Regions from separate parts of the Homo sapiens genome. Here regions 1 and 3 are each linked to region 2. Evidence: promoter capture Hi-C in human tissues and cell types (Jung and others, 2019). All regions are on one chromosome and are shown on one strand. Each heading gives the region's core, a stretch centred on a gene start or on the middle of the fragment in contact. The rest is flanking DNA. Distances are from core to core; before and after follow the strand shown. Region 1 has its middle 83 kb from the start of GPM6A. Region 2 holds the start of SPCS3 (signal peptidase complex subunit 3). Region 3 has its middle 9.1 kb from the start of GPM6A.

The links. Contacts are between HindIII fragments. The study calls those that stand out against the background at their distance.
Region 1: a contact is called between a fragment that was not itself captured here and the fragment with the promoter of SPCS3 in region 2, in 1 of the 25 tissues and cell types used here (dorsolateral prefrontal cortex).
Region 3: a fragment that was not itself captured here is called in contact with the fragment with the promoter of SPCS3 in region 2 in 1 of the 25 tissues and cell types used here (dorsolateral prefrontal cortex).

What each region holds. Positions count from the first base shown.
Region 1 is chr4:175,893,413-175,896,797 of GRCh38, reverse strand. It overlaps a transcript of GPM6A not described here. Among named protein-coding and RNA genes, the nearest start is that of GPM6A, 83 kb to the right of the region's middle. The HindIII fragment of the contact is 4,982 bases long and covers 1-3,385 here.
Region 2 is chr4:176,317,567-176,321,295 of GRCh38, reverse strand. It overlaps SPCS3 (signal peptidase complex subunit 3), which reads right to left and starts at 1,330. Exons shown (of 5, transcript NM_021928.4): 1 at 1,077-1,330. The coding sequence starts at 1,219. SPCS3-AS1 (SPCS3 antisense RNA 1) reads left to right here and starts at 786. Exons shown (of 4, transcript NR_186171.1): 1 at 786-1,151. RefSeq lists silencers at 617-696, 727-796, 917-1,036 and an enhancer at 1,019-1,519. The HindIII fragment of the contact is 9,129 bases long and covers 1-3,729 here.
Region 3 is chr4:175,819,700-175,823,116 of GRCh38, reverse strand. It overlaps a transcript of GPM6A not described here. Among named protein-coding and RNA genes, the nearest start is that of GPM6A, 9.1 kb to the right of the region's middle. The HindIII fragment of the contact is 7,955 bases long and covers 1-3,417 here.

The DNA.
Region 1 (3,385 bases), core at 8-2,507, 420 kb after region 2:
ATAACAAATGTGATGGCAAGTTGCTTTACTAAGATATTATTTTATGTATTTCTCCCCAGATTCTACCCTGTCTCCTGCCCCCACCCCAAGAAGATAGACAGGGCCTGTGGTGCCTATCTAATGGGGAGATTTTTGCAAGGCAGAAAACAGAAGCAGAAGACAGAAACAGAAGCAGAAAACAGAAACAGAAGCCTTTTGGAGTTAAAGGCTTTTTGAATTTTCTTAAACTCTTTAAAGAAATAGTGTTGGGTCCATAACTGGGGTAGAGTGAAGACAGAATTTGAAGTAATAAGGCTTTTGAAGAGTCAGATCAAGGCTTAAGGCTTCAAAGGGGGCAGACATGTCTGGATCTCAGGAATAGCTGAACTCACATCAGAATCCCAGGCACCTCCCCGAGCAGGTTGAATGATCTGAGGATAATTTTCTGGTGCATTTAGGGAGGCAGGATGCTAGGTACCTGTGACCCTAAAAAGTTTGTCATAGAGACCCCAGAACTTTGTGGCCTGAGGAACTATATGGATTGGGCTAAGTGTCTGTGGTCACCAAAGCAGAACGATGTGGGATCTTACCATCTACCTTGAGTCCCCCAAAACCCCCTGAGACTTCATCATCCTGAAATGTAAAGCTTCCCCAAAAGATAAAAGTCTAATTTCCTGCCACTCTTCCAGGATGGAAACTAGTGAGTTTACTGACTCATATTTATAAATCCTTTGCAAAAGTAATAATATGTGGTTCACGCTTTTTTATTTACAAAGCTACTACAAATTATATTTTAACAACCAGATGTTAACAGCAACTTTGCTTAGTAAAGGTCATAGGAAAAGGCCACAGATGGAGAGATTCAGGATTAATAAAAGCCAATGTAATAGAAAACATAATAAAATAAAAAACAAAGTAGATCAAATATTTCAGGGTTTATGCCAAGGTATGATTATGAAGAGTTACTAAAAAAGCTGTTAGGAAATATTTTAACTTGAGGTAATTACAAAAAATGCACTATTATACCCATACATCATATACAGTATACTTAATACAGAATTTGGAAAATATTGCAAACCAAATAAATATTCCATTTTCAACAATTTCTATGTTATTAAGTACTTGTGACATTGATTAATTGTATCTTCTACAGTTGAGACTTTACCAATATCCTACTGTTACTATATTAATAGGTTGATTTGGAATTTTAACTTGTTCATAACATGTCATCTGTTTAAATTTATTAGTAACTATATATCTCTTGGTGATATACATACCTGTAGATATTATTTTTCCTCATCTGTGTTTTCAAAATTTTCTGCAAAGAACATGTAACACTTTTGAAATGTTAGTTACCTTCCAAGTTCTTAGTTTTTTCCAATTGGCAATAAGAAAAGTTAACTTATTCACCATTTTTTTTGAAAAGATAGGATGCATTGTTTATATCAGTATTACTTTAATTGAAATTAACCTAAATTTATTCTGAGAAAAATATAAATAGGATTTTGAATCACGTATTCTTTATAGCAACCAAATGGAGTCATTTAGTTTATTCCAGCCCTTATAGAAGCTTACCAAACAGAGCAAAATGGATCACATATTTAAAAGCAAGTTGGCTACACTGGTGGCATCTCAAGTCATTCACTGGCATACTGAATCACAAGATGATTTCATTCTAAAGATCAAAGAAGATTTTGTTTTGCCTTTAAGTATTTGAGTTTGCTTTAAAGTTCACTGATTCATGGTTTCTCACTCTATCGCATTCTGGGTCCCCTGAAACACAAAGTAACACAGTAAAAAAAGGGATGGTAAGACACCAGTTGTAACATGTCTTATCAATGCTGTATACTGATTTGGGAAGCAGTGTGTTACAGTAATAGTGTTTTGACTTTTAGAAACAGAGAATGGGTTTAAAACTTGGACCTGCCACTTAGTAGATGCATGATGTGATACTTAATCTCTTTTTGAACTTCGAAGACCCTTATATAAGAAAATGGGGTCATGTATTCTTTGTATAATATTTTGTGTATGAGTTTTCCTCCTAAATGATACTAGAGTGTGTTTGAAATTAATTAGCCAAAATGATTTAGCCACTCCCCTTTTGACAGATTTTTGAGGGGTTTCTGTGGTTTTACTATTAAAAATATATACTACTAACATTAAAATCCTTGTATTCTTGTTGTTTGTGCAGGTTACTCTGGATTAGGAATGATGAAAGGTAGAAGGGTAGAAAATGTAGTCTCATTATTAACTGGAAGACATTATTAACCATGGAACACACTCTTTTTGCATGCATAAAAATCTCTTTCTTTTCATGAAAAGCAATTGTGGGCAGAATGGAGCAGCTATTTCCTCAGAGGGGAGTCACTCTATCAGACAGAGTTAGTCTTTTATATTTTGTGACTCTGTCTTTCGAGCTAAGGCAGAGCAATTGTTCTTTAGCACCCCTTCCTCGCTTTTTCGCTATATACAGAAGTATCTTCCTATAGATTAGATATAGATGATTTCCCACTTGGACTTAGTAGTTGCTGAGAACACTTAATTTGGTCTATCACTTTTCCTTTTTTTTCTGAGCAAAAGTATCTTCAAAGAACTAAAAAAAAATGTAATTCTAACATGAGGACGGTCTGCTATCTTATCTTCTGTTTTCCAATTATATCTGCCATCTCAGTTTTAAGATCAACAAAGAAGGTGGATAAAGCACTTGTGAAATTATCAGCCACACTGAGACAACAGTATTCTCAGAAGTAGGAGTTAAGGGGTCTCTGAAATAAGAGATTAATTTATTTTTAATCTCTGTCTTTTTTAAGGATTGGATTTTTGACCAATCCATTTCAACAGGAATGATCTCAGAGATAGAATGTGAGGTGTGCAGCTCTCTCAAATGTTGATCATTATATTTTATATCATTTTGTTAATTAATTTATATCGCTTTTTCTTACCGAGTTTTAGCACCTTCATGTCCTACAAAGAGATGAGTTGATAGATATCAGGTTATCTTAGACTACACATTCCTAGAATAAACTTATATTCTTCAGTGAACTTCTGTTTTTACTTAGGAAGGTTAGGAAACGTAACTAGATTATGCAAATCTGATCTGAACAAAGATTTGAAGATATAAAACGAATGAGGTTAGTTATCATCCCCACCTGTCTTATAAGACATTAAGAAGGAATATTATCTATTCAGGGGGTAGTTTAAGAAAAACTGGCCGAGGAAAGAAAGGAGGACCCCATGAAGGTGCTGGAGGATCAGGAGGAAGAATAGAACAAGAGGAAAAAGGCAGTCAGCTTAAGGGAGGCCAGGAGGGAGGCTGATCAGAGTAAGGTCAGGAGAAAGGGAGAAGTGTTTAACTTAGGATTTTAGGTACTCCATGCTTTTATTACCTTTTCTAAGGAGTTCTTAA
Region 2 (3,729 bases), core at 81-2,580:
TTCAGTGTTTAATATGCACCAAGCTCTTCTAACCCTCACAGGGCTGACAATGGCAGTGCTGATGTCCACCCCAGGTCTATTCGAACAATATCTAACAAACATCAGTACAGTAATTTAAAAAAAAAAAAAAAAGGTGGGGGGAGAAGGCTCGCTATTTGATAACTGGCTTCTTGGCGATTCTGACAAAGAAATAAACTAAGGTTAAAGAACTTGTGTAAGACGGAAATAGAGTAGAAGGGTATGAGAACAAGAGATGGAAAAATACGACGATTAAAGACAAAAGTGCCAGAGAATAAAATCAAGGACAAAATAGGCAATAGCGAAATGGCACTGTCATTTCGAACTGCATTTTTTGGCGTTTTCGCAGACTTCTTCAAGTGGTTGGCAAAAGAAAAAGAAATAAAGAAACCCAACAAAACAAAAATCTCGCTGTATCAGAAGGCTAAGATGCTTAATTCTCTCAGTGCCCAACATCTCTGGCCAACTTCAAAGCAGCTCCAACTGTTTACTGCCTTCTGAAGGTGCAAAGGCAACAACTGTAAAGGGAATGTCAAACAGGGCAAACTCGGGTGATGAATGACACAAAGACAACCCCGTCCTGTGGCCTCCAGAGCCGCCAGGAAACCCCACGGAAGCCCGACCCAGAGCGCGGCGGCAGCGCCTGGAGGGCCTCGCATGCGGACCACGAGCGGCACCGGACGCGCGGGAGGCGCCAGCCCAGGCGGGCGGCGGCGCCGGCTCTGCTGTTGTGTTGCTCCCTCATTGGCCAGGCGTGGGTGGAGGGAAGTGAGGAACAGGAAGCAAGCGGAGGCACCGACCTGAGGAACGCTCAAAATTAAAATTTAAGAGCAAGCCCGGGAATTTACGGTGGAGGGGTGCAAGTTCCGAGGGGACGCCGGAAAAGCCTGCGACGTCCACCCCTGACGACCGCCCTCGGGGGCGAACTGCCGCTCAGGAGGGCGATCCGGACGCCCTGCCCGCGGCCCCGGCACGGCAGCCCCGGCGCGGCGGCCCGGCTTCGGCTTCCGCCCCAGCCCGGTCCCGGCGTCCTGCACCGCCGGCCCGGCCTCACTCACAGCATGATCCGCGAGACGTGCAGCCGCACCGGGACGCTCCTGTCTTTGAAGGCGGTGGTGATGAAGCAGCCGAAGGTGAGCGCCGCCATCACGCTCAGCGAGAAGGCGAACAGTGAGTTCGCCCGCGACAGCACCGTGTTCATCGCGATCGTCTCCCACGAGTCCGGACTCCACACGCACACCCAGGCTCCCGTTCCGGCGGCGGACCGGCTCCCTGCGATCCGCGCCGTCTGCGGTGCGCGCGTTCCGGGAGCGCGCGCCGCCGCAGCCCCGCCTCCTTTCCGGTCCTCCGACGCGAGCGCGCGCGCGCCCGCTTCCCGAAACACACCCACAGCGCGCACGGGGCGGCGCGGAAAGGGAGAGACTCAGCCGCGGGCCCGCCCCTCCGTCGCGGCCTAACGCCGCCACCAATCAGCGACGAGTGAGGGAGGGGCGGGGTTTGTTGTGGAAGACCCACCCCCTCCTCTTCTAAATTGCTTCTCCGACCTTTGGGTTCAGAGAATTGGGAACCGGTCGTTCGCTGTCCTTTTTCGGTTCTTTGGTCAGAGGTCTGGGACTGCGACTTCTTGATTACTTATGTACCATTTATTTTCACTTGAAACCGGCAGCAAGTTAAGGTGGTTTAGAATCTGTCCTGACGGGTGGCGTTTGGAAGCAGCACTTTACAAAACGCCTGGTCCTCTCCCTTCTTTGTCAAACCTGGTCAAAGTTAGGACTTGAGCTTTTTTTGGAGGATCTGAGGAGCAGTGGGGAGTGGGGAATTAGCCGCCCAAGTCCTTAAAGCTGTCACGTGCATCAGTATTTCCACCTCCAACGTCAGTCCAATTCCTATTAATGCTTTGCTTTGTATGGATAGCTAAAGATGTTTTAGAAGATAAGGGTTGAGGCTACCGATCCTAAGTATTTGCATTTTAACATGGTGATTTCTGATAAATAAAAGGATAACCTTTCTGGGTTCTTAGGAGCAAAGAAGATAATGGCTGCGGAATTGCTCTACAGCATAATGTATAAGAATTTCGTTGGGTCATTAATAAATAATGCAATTATTTTATCACATTTTCAATATCCTGAAGGGCATTAGGGTTCAAACCGAGCCAATCCTGACTCTGATTATACTATCTGCCAAAACCTTTGTTCCTTTCACAGCTAAGGGTTTTTATAAAAATGGATTCAGGGTCTGCTGAAATAAATTTTTTTTAAAAATTTCAGTCCATAAACCAAACAAAAATATCTGTCCTGGAATGTGATCAGGAACAAACCAGAAAACTGTGAACATCTGATCTTGATACTGGCTTATGTTGTCTCTTGTTAAGCTTTTGCTTCTTTGCATTATTCATGACCATTCAATTAATTTTTGTATAGCCATACAGGTAGGATTATTACCAAGTGCCTACCGTGTACCAGGAATAGTTCTAAGCCTTGAGAATACAGCACTAATAAGGCAGACTCCCTGCTCAAATAGAGCCAACTAATGAAAAATCGATAAAATAGAGACTAAAGAGAGATCCTTAGTTGCGTTTAAAATCTTAGTTTTTAACTTCCAGGCTGGCACAGTTTGTTAACAAAAAAAGAAAAAAAAGGATTTTTATTGAATGCCATCTATACTGCAAGTGATACAGAGATTGTACTGATCACTTTCTACACTCAAAAGTATATAATCAGGTAGAGTTAATAAAATAAAAACAAATCTGAAATGTAAAACAAAAAAATACCCTGGGAAGTTACATAGCAAAGGAGGAAGGAATTACAGCCCTGGTAATGTGGGACAACACAGTGTGCAAATTATTTAACACAAAGCCTAAACAAGACACATTATTATTATAGCATGTTTTAGGGAAATAATTCTTGTTGTTGAACTGCAAGTACAGGTATATCTAAGAGATACTCAGAAGGCTGGTCCTGATAAACAATGCATGTATAAAAGAGTAAGCAGAAATAAGCCTGGAAAGGTAAGTTATGGTAGAAAACCAGGTCAAGAAGTTGACTTTATATCAGGGAAATTACATGTAAAACAAGCATCGCTACACAGGCAACCATTTACCAGTTATATGTGGAGAGTGAGTGATGGACCCAAAAGGAAGACTGATAGGAGGGGCATTTCGGAAACAAACTCTATGTTACTTAGCAACTGCCTAAATAAGAGTGGGGGTCTGCAAAGCATAGAGTGAATGCAGATTGTGAACACTCAAATGAAACTAGTATTATTATTATGACACCACAGTTTTTAACTTGACTTACTGGTAGTGCTAAAAACACATAAAAGTCCACAAAAAGAGCAGGAGAGGGATGGGATAGGGAATTTTCTTATTCTGTTTTATTTTTCCAAGTGTTTCTTTAGATTTTCTAGACATTTATATCACCTACATTAGATATCATTTTGCCTTTTCCGTTCCAATTATTATATTTCCAATTGTTTATTCATTTCAGTAGCTAATATTTCCAACATGATATTCAGTCAGATGGGGACAACTGATATCTTTTTGTTCCTGATTTGAGCAGGAAATTTCCTTTCATTTCTCCATCAAGTAAGATGTTGGCTTTGAGATGGAAATTGTGTGTGTGTGTGTACATGTATCATTATATAATATATATTGCATATTGATAGGAAATATCTATTCCTATTGGGAAATTTTTAAAAATATAAACAAGTGCT
Region 3 (3,417 bases), core at 867-3,366, 500 kb after region 2:
ACCTTTGAAAGCCTCAATTTTCTCACATGAAAGAAAGCTATCTTGCAGAGGTGTTACGAATGTTAGAAAAAAAATTATAAAAATCGCCAGCCCAATGTCTATAACATTTTAGCTGCAGTTAGTGGTAACCAACTTATTATTGTCAGTTTTGTAAAATTATTAAGTTTTCTGATAATTAAAATAATATTGTACCTATATAAAAAGTATCAAAAAGCATGTAAAGAGATGAGAACACATGGACACAGGGAGGGGAACATCACACACCGGGGCCTGCCAGAGGCTGGGGGCAAGGGGAGGGAGAACACTAGGACAAATACCTAATGCATGCAGGTCTTAAAGCCTAGATGACGAGTTGATAGGTGCAGCATATCACCATGGCACATGTATACCTATGTAACAAACCTGCAGTTCTGCACATGTATCCCAGAACTTAAAGTACAATGTTTTCAAAAAACAAAAAAAAAAGCATGAAAAGAATTAAATAAATTATCTCAAATACCACTTTCTAGAAATAAGCACTCTTAACATTTTCCAATAGATCTGTATAGGTTTGTTTCAATGCATATGTTTATGAACATTTTAAAATACAAAAGGATACTATTTATACTGTTGTTATATACTTCTATCACTTTATTGTGAACAGCTTTTCATTGTTAATACAGACAACTTATGTAATCATTAACTGCTATACAGTATTCCCATTTTTGGATATACCAAAAATTTTAATAAACGATTCTCCTAAAGTGGACAGCTTTTTAAAAAGGCATTATGTATGTTTAGAGAAAAATAGATAGAAAAGGATAAGATTTCCAATTAAAAGAAGTTTTCAAAATATTAAATTGAAATTAAAGCAATTACATATCATGACCAATTCTCTGTTTGGGAATGCAAACAGAGTTTAACATCAGAAAATCTACAAATGCAATTCTTACTTTAATATATAAATGGATGCAATTTGTATAATCATCTTACTTGATGGAGAATAAAACATTTTTTCTGATTCAATACTTTATAATAAATGAACCTCAGAAATGTGTACTAGAAGGGAACTTATTTAAACAGATAAAAAATGTCTATGCAAACCTACTACAAATAACACATAATAATGAAACCATAGAATCATTTCTTTTAAAATCACTGCTCAATTCAACACTGTGTTGGGGACCCTAGAATGCACAGTAAAACAGAGGAAATAAATTAAAATATATAGATTGGACAGTTAGACTCATATTTGTTTTAATTCAAATATGTGAATTTCTACATAGAAATTTCAAGACCTATGCATTATTAGAACTATAGGAGAGTTTAGCAAATTTGCTTCTTATAGGACTGATTTTTAAAATCCAATAATGTGTTCCTTTGCTTCAGTCAAAAAAAGTCTTGAGAGATTTAGTATAAAATACCTCTAAAAGAAATCAAAATACTTAGGAATAAAAACAAAAAAAAATATGCAAAGCTCCTAGGGAGAACATTTTAAAACATTCTTAAAATATATGAAAAAAAGTTCTCAACATATGGAAAGAGATCTCATGTTCATGGAAAGAGATTCAATTTTGTAAAAATGTTAATTATGTCTCATTAATCTATGAAGTTAATTTAAGTTCAATAAATATAAGTTCACCTCCCCCTCATTATATTTGAAAGCTGATTCTAAAATATATATAGATGACCAAAAACCAAGATTAACTAAGGCACTGTAAAAATATATATGTTAGACATTTAATTGCTATGGAATTAGTATTCAGAACTTACAAATAACATCTATAGAATAATACCAAAAAGCAAACAATACTGTGGGCAAATGAGTGAAGGGCATGAATATACATTTCTCAAAAGAGGAAAATCATTGGCTAATTGCAAGAAAATGTTCTCAACTTTATGAGATACTTAAGGAAATCATATTAAGATATATAATTAATACTCATGTAAATTAAAAGATTTATCTTTGGTAACATTTAAAAATTACTAAGTATAGAAGACGTAGAACAGTAGGATTCTCAGATAGTTCTTAGGGAAATTTAAATTGGCACAAGCACTTTGAAGGGCTTTTTAACACACATATTATTGAAGACATACATAATCTCCTACCCAATGATTCCACACATACATACACCTCAGACTTGTAGGGAAAATTTTAAATGTATGCACTAAACATATATAAAAATATTCATTGTAATTTTTTACAGTTGTTTAGAAATTAGAAACAATATTAAATGTTTATCAACAGATCCGCATATACATTAAAAGATTGAGGAAGAAGTTGCGAAAAGAGACATATAAGAAGATATTCTTGATATCTAATCAAAACCTACAAAACAGGCCGGGTGTGGTGGCTCATGCCTGTAATCCCAGCACTTTGGGAGGCTGAGGTAGGTGGATCACTTGAGGTCAGAAGTTTGAGACCAGCCGGCCAACATGGTGAAACCCTGTCACTACTGAAAATATAAAAATTAGCTGGGCGTGGTGGCGCATGCCTGTAATCCCAGTACTTGGGAGGCTGAGGCAGGAGAATCACTTGAACCCGGGAAGGGGAGGTTGCAGTGAGCAGAGATTGCACCACTGCACTCCAGCCTGGGCAACAGAGCAAGACTCCATCTCAAAAAAAAAAAAAAAAAAGAAAGAAAAGAAAAAAGAAAACCTACAAAACAATACTAACTATGGTGTGTATATATATCTGTATACACACAGACACACATATGCATGCACACACATATTAAATAATAAGGACAACATACAGGAATAAAAACTCTCCAGTCCTGAGTGATTATTAACAGGAGGTAGGGCTGAAGAAGATATAAGGAAAGGAATGCAGTTAGAGAACACGTATAATCGACTTTATACTTTATTTTCTATGTTGGGTGGTAGTACAAGTGTTTATTATTTTGGTCTCAAGAGCTAATTTAAAAAAAGAAAATAAGAAGGAATAATAACTGTGCATAAAGTCCTAATGGCTAAATTGTGGCACTGAATAGAGTTTGAAGATCAGAGATACGTCCACTGAGTAAAAGTCTCCATATTTCTGCTAAACCGCTTAGATGATAATTGCATTTGTTGACGAAAGCTATCAAGCATATTAGAAATCTTAAAGAACGTTCTCTACTTCAACTCCCTATAGTAGTTTTACTCTGAAATCACACTTTTGTTGATTTATTGCTGTTTAAACTGAGTATTAATATTTTTAACTTCAATCGTAAGTTCTTTGAGTATGAGAATCATTTCTTCAACTTTTTTGTGTGTCTCTCACAGCATCTGGCAACATGTTGGGCATATGGGAAGCAGTTAAATGTTTTTGTTTTTGGATGAATACAAATATTCATGTTGTGAGAAGACTTTACAATCAGGGCCTTTTCCTACATTAAATGCCTTTGGGTCTACTACTTACATAAGTGTAGGCGGATATCCAGGTGGTTCAAAGAA